Regions from separate parts of the Homo sapiens genome. Here region 2 is linked to region 1. The links are contacts of gene promoters, found by promoter capture Hi-C in human tissues and cell types (Jung and others, 2019). All regions are on one chromosome and are shown on one strand. The core of a region is centred on a gene start or on the middle of the fragment in contact, and the rest is flanking DNA. Distances in the headings are between cores, read along the strand shown.

Region 1 (5,709 bases), core at 1,466-3,965:
CCTGTGATAGAGCTGGGCTTTCTTACCTCAAAACTGCAGCCAAATGGGCAGTATTATCTTTGTCTCACCTTTTAGAACCATTTCCAGAAGTACAAAAATTATTAATATTCCCATGTGGTGGATCTTAACTTTTGGGAGGGGGACATGGATTCCTGTAGGAAAGGTAAAAACTATGGATATATGTCTACGTATAATTTTAGGCAGTTCACTGACCAGCCCTTCCTCCAAGCCAGTTCATGGACCAACTTAATGACACCCTACATACAATCCGAAGCATTCACCAAGTGTTTTCTAACACGACATATCATTAGGGAAGGGGCACTATGGCGTATGGTGGGAAGATCAGTACCTTTGATGCCAAGCAACTGATGATCAATAACTTTCATACCAGTAACTTTGATGCAAGGCAGATGTAGATTTGAGAACTGGCTCTGCAACTAAGAAAGGTATGGCATATGCCCTTGGAACCTGTCTCTTCATCCATAAGAGGAGGATCATGATATCCATTTGGCAGTGTTCTTGTGAATTATTAGAAATAATGTAAAGAGGCAACCACGTAAGAGCTGCATACATCATAGATAATAACAAAGAATGCATTTCAGCCCATAGTGCAGTGTGGCTCACAGGGCTCGTGATGACTCATTTTGCCTGTGACATAGCGACTGTAAATCAACATAGCTCACGTACCCTCAGCAGCTATCACTCTGGTGGCAGCTGTGCTTCACATCCCACAGAACACCAGTGCCTTGGGGTACCTAGGCCAGGGCCTGGCACACATTTTTGTTTTAAATACTGAACAGAGGGATATTGAGTCCATCCACAAGTACTGGTTCAGTGTGTCTCCCCACAGCCAACCACCAGTGCCAGTTCATATTGGTGAGACTCAGCAACCAACTTGGTTTGCAAAGTGACCCCATCAGACAGGAAGGACATTGCCTTCCTAACAGCAAATGAGAAACGAGGGAGCCTTGGACTTTTTTTTTTTTCTTTTAATGTTTCATAGCATGACATCCAGGTGGGTCCTGACCTCTGTCAATACCACCTTCCTGAGGTTAGTTCCATTTCCTACTCTGCACCTGATTCCTGCAGCTCCCACCTTCAGTGAGAGGAGGCTACAGTTCTGAAGGAAAAGGCTTGGCATTGAAGCTATGGTCTTCCTGGGCCAGATTCAGGAGGGAATGGAAGAGAACATTCCTTTCAGGACAGGTGGCCAAAGGATAGGAGACAGAGTGGTTCAGCAGGGGGGGTAGGTTGCACAAGGGTGGGGCAAAGGGCACCTCCTGAAAGATGGGAAGTGGGAATGGGGATCTGGCCTGGGGCTGCTGTGGAGCCAGCTGCAGTGCAGGTTGCAGGGGAGCAGGGGCTTCCGCCTTGGGGTTGCTGTCTTGGTCAGCATGGCTCCTGCCTTCGGGGATGTCCAAATCCCACAGAACATCTGGATTCTGGACCTCAGTCTCAGTCTTGGTGACAGCAGGGGCAGGGCCCGTGTTGATGGCTGCATTCATGCCGTAGCGCCGTCGCTTGTTAATCCAGTACAACAATGGGCTGTAGGTGAATGTGGCAGCTCTCATCACCTCCACCCACTGCTGGGCATGCTCTTCCCGCCTCAAGTTCTTCCTCCAGTGCAGAAAGATAATGCACCCTCCAGTTATCACAGAACACAGCCCCAGGATTCCAAAGTACAATGAGACCCACACTAAGGCAGCAAGAAAGAAAAAGAGGCATGCTGGCTGATAGCTGTAGCTTGGGGCCTGAGCTGTTTCTCATTCCTCTTTCACTTAACCCATGCATCAATCGCTCCATCCACTTAACTACTCTCACCGTTCCTTCCCTCCCTTATTGACTTGCCTCATCATTCCCTTATTCAGTCAAAGCTAGATTTCCAGGGAGCTTAAGCACCACCTTTAACTCTTTACAGATCACAAAAGCTAGGTCTAGCGGGGGCATGTGCTGCCCAGGCTCAGTCAAGCCTCTGATTCCTAACCCAGGACCCATCCAATCCATCAGACTGAGAAGTTTCACTATGGGCAAGTCCATCAAGAAGCAAAAGTTCACCAGCACTTTGTGAGGCCCAGGTGGGCAGATCACTTGAGGTCAGGACTTCAAGTCCAGCCTGGCCAACATGGTGAAACCCCGTCTCTACTAAAAATTTTAAAATTAGCCAGGTGTGGTGGTGCATGCCTGCAGTCCCAGCTACTTCAGAGGCTGAGGCAGGAGAATCACTTGAATCCAGGAGGTGGAGGTTACAGTGAGCCTAGATTGAGCCACTGCACTCCAGCCGGGGCAACAGAGCAAAACTTCATCTCAAAAAAAAAAAAAAAAGTGAAAGTTCATCAGTTGACAGAGACACCAATGTCCCATCCCATTCCATTCAGCTGTGATAGTCCTGGGCTATTGATAGTATCTTCTCTGGTTGATCAGAGCATGGTCTTTGCCTTAAAATAATTCTTAGTTTTCTAGAGTAGACTATCTCCTAACTGCTTAGCTCTCCTCCAGGCAGCCAGGCACTGTCCCATCCATGCAAAGGGCCTTCCCTGAGTGTTTGTCCCCAAGCCCTAAGGCACAAGTCCAGTGACAGGGACTGGAGGAGCACTTACTCCCAGGGAAGCGCAGGTCCTCCTGTTGGGAATCCATACAGCTGAGCTTTGGTACCTGGCCGATGGCTCTGGGGAGAGGGAACTCACCCACCCATCTGCCCAGCCAGTCAGCCCATCTGCCCAGCCAATCAGAGTCTCCAGAATGCCCAGGCCCTTTGTTCTCTAAAGGAGAGGTCACTGGGTTCTGAGAATTGGGCATTCTAGGGGCAGTGCTTGTGAAGTGGTCCTGGGTTAATGGAAGGAGGGGACTTCATCCAGTGGCATTTTTTGGGTGGAATGTCACTACTACTTCCATCAGAGACTGGTTCACCTATTGAATTGTCTGTACCTACCCCTTATGGTGAACCCACAGAGCAGACCCCAGAAAAGGGCCATTGTCCCTCAGGTACTTACGGATGTTGCTGGTCTTTAGGGAACGGTTGATGGGATACCTGTCCCCAGTGAGGAATGTAACAAGGAACACACAGCATTGGGCAGCCCTGTTCTCAAAAAGTATCTAACCAAGTTGGCAGGAAGAAACCTGCTCAAGGGAACCAAGTGGTCAATACCTCCTTCTTTGGCTCCAACAATCTGTCTTTTATTTAATTACCTTCCTTCAAGTGCTGACAAGTGTTTCCCAGGCCCCAGGCCCTGTGGGGCTTCCCACCATCTGGCCTGCATCTACTTCCAGCCTTACTTCCCTCCTCGTCCTCCACACACTTTTCCCTTTTGCCTAGTCCGTACTCCTGAACAGACCCTGCTCATTCACATCTCTGGAGGTGTGCCCATGCTGCTCCTTCACCCAGGAGTGCCCCTGCCCACTTTTCCACCACTGAACACCTGCTCATCCTTCAAGACTCAGCTCAGCCCCCCTACTCTGTGACAGACTGCCCAGAATCATATCATCGCCAATTTGAAGAAACTTTGAGAGTTGTCTAGTTCATCTCCACCATCTGATCCCACCATCAGGGCCATGCTTGACTCCTGGGGGTAGATTTTTCCCCACACAGCAACTAATCTCCCTGGACTCAAGACTCACTTGAGTCAGGAACTTGCTCACCACCTCCTGAGGCAGCTTGATGCATTTATGGGCAGCTCAGTTAGAAAGCCCTTCCCTAATTAAGCTTAAGTCAGCCTTCCCAGTATGTTGCACCACTGCTTGTAGCTCAGCTTCTTAGCACCATTTTAATGACTCCCCTCTTTATAGTCCTCCAATGTGTGACTTAGGGAACTATTTAGCACAGAATTCTCTCCAGGGTCCACTTACCCTTGTTCTCCTCGTATATCACTGGCCCCTACTTTCCAGTCTCCTTTGCTGGTTTCTCCCTTTTCCCCTGATCTCTAAATGTAGGCATGTCTAGGGCTCAGTTCTTAGTGCTCTATCTACATTCATTCCATCAGTTATCTCACCCAGACCCCTGGCTTTAAATATCACTATACACTGACAGTACGCAACTGTATCTCTCCAGCCTGGAATGCTCCTCAGAACTTTAGACTCATACCCAAATACCTGGTTGACATCCCTCCTTGCCAGTCTGTTAAATTATCCCAAACCAACATGTCCAAAACCAAACTCTGATTATCCATCCTCCAAAGTCTACCCTACCTACAGCCTTCCTCCTCTTCATAAGTAGTATCTCTGTCCTTCGGGTTGTTCAGGCCAAAAACCTGCAAGTCATCCTTGACTCCTTTCATTCTATCACACCCACACTGACTCCATCAGCAAGATCTTTAGGCTTTTATTTCAAAATATAACCAAAATCTGGCCACTTTTTTTTATCACTATCACTTTAGTCCAAGTACCACCATCTCTCACTTGGATTACTGTTCCCTGTAGGGTGACCAACATCCTGGTTTGCCCAGGACTTGGGGTGGGTTCTCAGGACATGGGGCTTTCAATGCTAGAGCCAAGAAAGTCCTAGGCAAACTGGAATAAATTAGTCACCCTTGGGAGAGTTTCCATCCTTGCCTCCACATATCCTAAATCCCACCAGCAGCCAGCATGATCCTTTTAAAAAGTAGATCATGTTACTCCACTGCTTAAAACATATAGTAACTTCCGATCTCATTCGATTTAAAATCAAAGTCCTTAACCAAGGCCTAAGCAATCTAACTAGCCCTCCCTATACCTTCTTGGTCTCATTTCTGCTGCTGTGCCCTCACTCATTCAGACTCAATAACCTCCTCATCAGGGCCTTTGCACTTGCTGTTTCCCCTACCTGGAAGGCTCTTCCCCCAGCATTCCCACATTACCTTCAGGTCTCTGCTCAAGTGTCCCCTTATCTCTATCTCTCTTGGCCTGCTGTTTTTCTGCATACCATGTAGCATCACCTAACATTATATATTTACTGTCTGTTTCACTCCACTAGAATGTAAGCTCAATGAATTAATATAAACAAGGATCTAAGAACTTCAGATAATGATAACTGCTATAAAGAGAATGCAATAGAGTGATGGGATAAAGACTATAAAGAGATGGAGGGGTTGTCATTTAGGTCCCTTGGAGGTGCTTACATGTGAACTGAGCCCTTAGATGATGAGGAGGCAGCCACATGCAGATCCACAGAGAAAACAGCAAGTGTTAGGAGTGTGAGCCAGGTATGGGCTGGCATACTTGAAGGACTTATTCATCTTCCATTACACTGTTCCTCGCACAGGGCAGGGCTCAGGGCTGATCTCCATGAGCATAGGTTGGATTGAGCAGAGTTGAAGGCTCTGCCCCTGTCCCAGGAGGGGCTTCAATCAGACAAAACCCAGACAAGAAGGACCTGATGATGAGTACTGTCCCAGAGAGCCCACTCCAGGACTGGCCCTGTTCTGTGAGCAGGTGGGACACAGAGATGTTAATGTCACTGTCCCTGACCCTAGGAGCTCACACCTGGTTCAGACGGTAAGGAAGATTGTGGCATTTGGGTTGAGAGAATGGAAGGAGAGAGGATTCCAGGGGTCAAAAAGGGCCTGAATAAGGACTCTTCAAGGAGTAATCCTGGTGTTTCTTTGGGAGAGAATAGGTCACTGTGGCTGGAGTTCAAGGAGGATGTCAGGAAGCAGAGGAAAAGGAGGCTTGGGAGGCAGCTGCCATCTTGAAAAGAGCTCAGCTGTCGGGTAGAACTTGAACAAGTCACATAATTAC
Region 2 (5,346 bases), core at 1,809-4,308, 1.1 Mb after region 1:
CTGGGAGGCCAAGGTGGACGAATCGCTTAAGCCCAAGAGTTCGAGACCAGCCTGGGCAATGTGGGGAAACCCCATCTCTACCAAAAGAAATACAAAAATTAGCTGGGCATGGTGGCACACACCTATGGTCCCAGCTACTGGGGAGCCTGGGAGGTTGAGGCTGCAGTGAGCATGAGATTGTGCCACTGCACTCCAGCCTGGGTGACAGAGACCCTGTCTCAACAAAAAAAAGCGGGGGTGGAGAGATGGGGAGAGGGGTCCTAGATAAACCAGGACAAGGTGTGGTCACCCAAATTAGTAGTGACTGGAATACAAATTACATACTCAGGAAAATGAAAGGGTGGAACTGCTTGGTGATATTTAAGTTTTACACTTATAGTTACTGGTACAAACCACATGAAAAATAATCAAATGTTTTAAAACTCTTGCTCTTCATGCTTTTTCCCCATAAAATAATTTTTGATAACTCAAGGTTTATTAGAACATAATATTACATCATAGCAAAATATACAATACTTACAAAAGACTAGCTGCTTCCTGGAATGCATTGACAGCTGCTGGAATATCCCCCATCACCAGATGTTTCTGTCCTAAACCCAATAGTTTCTTAGCTTCACTATCCACATCCAGACTGCAAAAAAAAGATTTTTTCTAGTGTCAAGTACTGTTTAAATCAGTATTTTTTGAATACCTGCTACATTTGAGCAATAGTTTCATTTTTTAAAACTTTTGGACTACTCTGGCAAGGCCTGGCTAACACACTTATTTACCATCACAAAATCAAAAGAAATCTTAAAGGCAACATTCCCAGAAGCCTGACTAGAGTATTTTCTCAGTTGGGTGCGGTGACTCATGCCTGTAATCCCAGCACTTTGGGAGGCCGAGGCGGGCAGACCACGAGGTCAGGAGATCGAGACCATCCTGGCTAACATGGTGAAACCCCGTCTCTACTAAAAATACAAAAAATTAGCCGGGCGTGGTGGCGGGTGCCTGTAGTCCCAGCTACGGGAGGCTGAGGCAGTAGAATGGCATGAACCCAGGAGGCGGAGCTTGCAGTGAGCTGAGATGCGCCACTGCACTCCAGCCTGGTCAACAAAGCGAGACTCCACCTCAAAAAAAAAAAAAAAAAAAAAAAAAAAATTCTCTTAACGGCTCATCTAATCACAAAGCCTGTATTGTATATTACTATAAATATTTCCTAATTGATCCACAAATAAAAAAGGTATCATAAAAGAACCATAAATTCATACAAATTGCACTAGCTAAAAGAAATATTAAAATTAAGAAGCATTTAGGTAAACAGGGCAAGAGGCAGTGATTTCAAGATTAAGACAATGTAGTATTGGCATAAAGAAAACCAAATGGATCAAATAGAACACAGAGTACAAAAACAGATCCATGCATATATGACTGACTGAAATTTTGAAAAAGGTACCAAGGCAATGCAATGAGGAATGGATAATCTAACAAATGGTGCTGGAGTAATTATAAATCCACATGCAATAAAGTGAACCTCAACTGTTATCTCATATCTCATACAAAAATTAATCTGCAATGGATCATAGGCTTTCTAAATATAAGATTTAAACCATAAAGTTTCTACAAGAAAATACAGGATAAAATCTTAGTGACTTTGGCTTTGGCAAAGACTTCTTGAATATGAAAGAAAAAGCACAAACTATTAACAAGAGGAAAAAAAATCAATAAACTAGACACACCACTAAAATGAAAAACTTGGTTTTGAAAGACACTGTTATAAAAACAAAAAAGGCAGGCCCAACTGGGAGAAAATATATGCAAAACTTCTGATAAAGGACTTGAATATATAAAGAACTCTTAGAACGTAGTAATAAAAAACAATCCAATAAAAAGGGGGCGAAAGATTTTAACAAACATGTCATCAAAGATACACAGATGGCAAATAAGCACATGAAAAGATGCCAACATTATTGCTCACTCAAAAAAATACAAACTAAACCCACAATAAGATACTGCTATATTCACTATAATAGCTAAAATTTTAAAAGACTGACCACATATCAAATGATGGTGAGGATGTAGGGCAACTAGAACTGTCAAACACTGCTGGTAAGAATGTAATGGTAGAATCACTTTAGAAAACAGTTTGGACGTTTCTTAAAGTTAGATATATACCTACCATATGATCTAGCCATTCTACTCCTAGGTGTGAACCCAAAAAATGGAAATGAATGCCCATACAAAGACTTGTACACAAATATTCACAGCAGCTTTATTTGTAAGCCAAAAACTGGAAACCCAAATGGATAAACAAATTGTGATATATCTACATCATAAAATGTCATTCACTAACAAAAAGAATGAACTATTAATACAGGTGGTAACATGGATGAATCTCAAAATAATTATGCTGAATCAAAGAAACTATACAAAAAGAAACAGTACTTACTGTATGATTCTATTTAGATAATATTCTACAAAATGCAACCCATCTTCAGTGACAGAAAGCAGATTAATGGTTGCTGGGGAGGGAATGAAGTACAAAGGCACATGAGGAAAAAACTTTGAGGTGATGAAAATACTCATTATCTTGATTGTGATAATGGTTTACAGGTGTATACATATGTAGAAACTCATAATTGTTACTTTAAAGTTATGTGCAGTTTCCTGTATGTCACTTAGACTTTCATTTAATGTTTCTTATAGCTTTAAGAAAAACCTGGGTCAAAAGAGCAAGAGTCAGTGACATTTTAAGTTCCATTAATGAAAACCAAATTATTTGGAAGGATAATCCCTCTTCTTAATTCAATCAACAATACTTGGGTACCTGATATTGCTGGGCACAATTCCAGACACTGTGATTATAACAAGAATGAGCTAAGACCACAGGGACAATGTCAAATTGAAGCAGAGAACTTAAGAAGGCAAGCCAAAAAAAAAAAAAAAAAAAAAATACAGAGGAAAAGCACTCTAGGACAGAGGCAATAGTAAGTTCAAAGCTCTAAAAGAAGCTTGCTTAAAATATTTGAGAAACAGAAAACTCTTCTGGCTAGAGTAAGCTGGGGAAGAATTATGGGAAATAAAGGTGAGGAAGAGGGAGAGAGCAGCATCACATTAGTATAGACTTTAAGATAGAACAAGAACAGAACTGGGGAGAAAACCAGTTGGAAAGAAAGTCTGGCCGGGCAGCAGTGGCTCATGCCTGTAATCCCAGCACTTTGGGAGGCTGAGGCGGGCAGATCACAAGGTCAGGAGTTCGAAACCAGCCTGGCCAAGATGGTGAAACCCCCCTCTCTTCTGAAAATACAAAAGTTAGCCGGGCGTGGTGGTGTGTGCCTGTAGTCCCAGCTACTCGGGAGACTGAGGCAGAAGAATTGCTTGAACCAGGGAGGCAGAGGTTGCAGTGAGCCGAGATTGTGCCACTGCACTCCAGCCTGGGTGACAGGGCGAGACTCCATCTCAAAAAAAGAAAAGAAAAGAGAAGAAAAGAAAAAGTCTAAGGCTGAGCATGGTGGCTCATGCCTGTAGTCCCAGCACTTTGGGAGGCGAAGGTGGGAGGATCACTTGAGCCCAGGAGTTAGAGACTAGCATCTCTATAGGAAAATACAAAAATTAGCTGACATCACGGTATGCACCTGTAGTCCCCGTTACTCGCAAGGCTAAGGCAGGAAGACTGTTTGAGCCCAGGAATTCAAGGCTGCAGTGAACTAGGATCACACTGCTGCACTCCAGCGTGGGCAACAGAGCAAGACCCTATGTCCAAACAAACAAACAAACAAACAAACAAAAACACTCTTTCTCTATTTAAAAAAAAAGGAAAGAAACCGTAAAAATCTAGACAGGAACCTGAGGAGTATTAGAGAGGGTTAGATTCTGAATATACTTATTTTAAAATTTGCTAATGGACTAGATATATAATTTATTGAATGAAAGAGGTGAAGCAAATGTTTTTTTGGCCGGGGCAACTGGTATTAAGTGTTAATAATGGACTATGTAGAAATTTTATCTACATTTAAATCCTAGGATCTACACCTCATAAAGTTATTGAATTATTACCCCCACTTTACAGATGGAAAACTGAATATTAATGGCAGCGATTCAAATCTACACAATCTAGATGAAAAGTTCTAGAACAACATTGCCACTGACTGATTAAAAAGTCAACTGAAGGAAAAGCCAGTGAGAAACAAGGCAATCAATTACTGTACAGTATTTAGCTTTGGATATGTTAATTCTGAGATCCCTATTAGACCTCCAAGATATTAAAAGGGAGAAATTTGGGAGAGATATGGGGACTGGAGATACAAATGGGAGAGTCAGGTACTTAAAGCCACTGGACTTAACAGAGGAGAATACACAGGGAGTGGCTACTAATAAAGACGTTGTAGGACTGACTGAGCCCTGGGAGCCTTCCAACATTTAGAGGTAGGGACGACAAGGAAGAATGGGGGTTGAGGGGAATAGCCAGTGAAGGAAAAGAGACAAGAAAATAGTATGAAGAAAACTAATGGGTCCAGGCACAGTGACTGGCCAACATGGCGAAACCCCGTCTCTACTAAAAATACAAAATTAGCCGGGCATGGTGGTGCACACCTGTAATCCCAGCTATTTGGGAGGCTGAGGCAGGAGAATTGCTTAAACCTGGGAGAAGGAGGCTGCAGTGAGCCAAGATCGTGCCATTGCATTCAAGCCTGGGTGACAGAGCAAGACTCCATCTCAAAAAAAAAAAAAAAAGTAACAGGAGTAATGGATTGGGTCAAATGTTACTGACAAGATTAACTCAGAGAGCTGAGAAATGACTACTAGAGTAAGGAATATGGATGGTACTAAAGACCATAAACAAGACTATTTTAGTAGAATGGTAGAGAAAAACTTGATTGAAGCAGCTTCAATTAAGAACAAAAGTAGTAGCAGATAAACAGAGTGGACACCTTTCACATTTTCCTGTCAAAGAAACTGATGTGAGGTAATAGACGAAGGGAAGTATGAGGGGGTCAACAAACGGTTAAATCTGATGATACCTAGTGGGCTGATATAAGTAATCTCATAGGAAACAAGAAGAGTATTGTTGCATAAAGAACTAAAGGAGTTCTATTATTAAGTAAATAATGAGTGGGATCTTGTGAACAAACGGAGATGCTGGTGTTATGTAAGAGCAAAGAAACTATGATGTCAGGATCCTTTACACTGTTACGTTACTGAAGCCCCCCAAAAAGCCTCTGTGTATCCAAGTTATATCTGTCAGTATTTGCCATACTGAAATTAAAACTAAAATAATTTTAAATAGTTTAAAATGTTACATGTTAATAACATGACTTTCTTTGAAAAATAACTCTTCAAAACAAAAATTTGGTAAGAATAGTGGCA

The links. The method cuts DNA at HindIII sites, captures the fragments that hold promoters and counts their contacts. A contact is called where the count stands out against the background at its distance.
Region 2: a fragment that was not itself captured here is called in contact with the fragment with the promoter of TEX38 in region 1 in 1 of the 25 tissues and cell types used here (aorta).

Annotation. Positions count from the first base shown.
Region 1 is chr1:46,668,860-46,674,568 of GRCh38, reverse strand. It overlaps TEX38 (testis expressed 38), which reads right to left and starts at 2,715. Exons shown (of 2, transcript NM_001145474.4): 1 at 2,598-2,715; 2 at 975-1,696. The coding sequence starts at 2,634. The coding sequence ends at 1,113. It overlaps EFCAB14-AS1 (EFCAB14 antisense RNA 1), which reads right to left and starts at 533. Exons shown (of 3, transcript NR_038828.1): 1 at 350-533. The HindIII fragment of the contact is 2,938 bases long and covers 1,818-4,755 here.
Region 2 is chr1:45,597,540-45,602,885 of GRCh38, reverse strand. It overlaps NASP (nuclear autoantigenic sperm protein), which reads right to left. Exons shown (of 15, transcript NM_002482.4): 3 at 521-631. Among named protein-coding and RNA genes, the nearest start is that of NASP, 16 kb to the right of the region's middle. The HindIII fragment of the contact is 7,294 bases long and covers 1-5,346 here.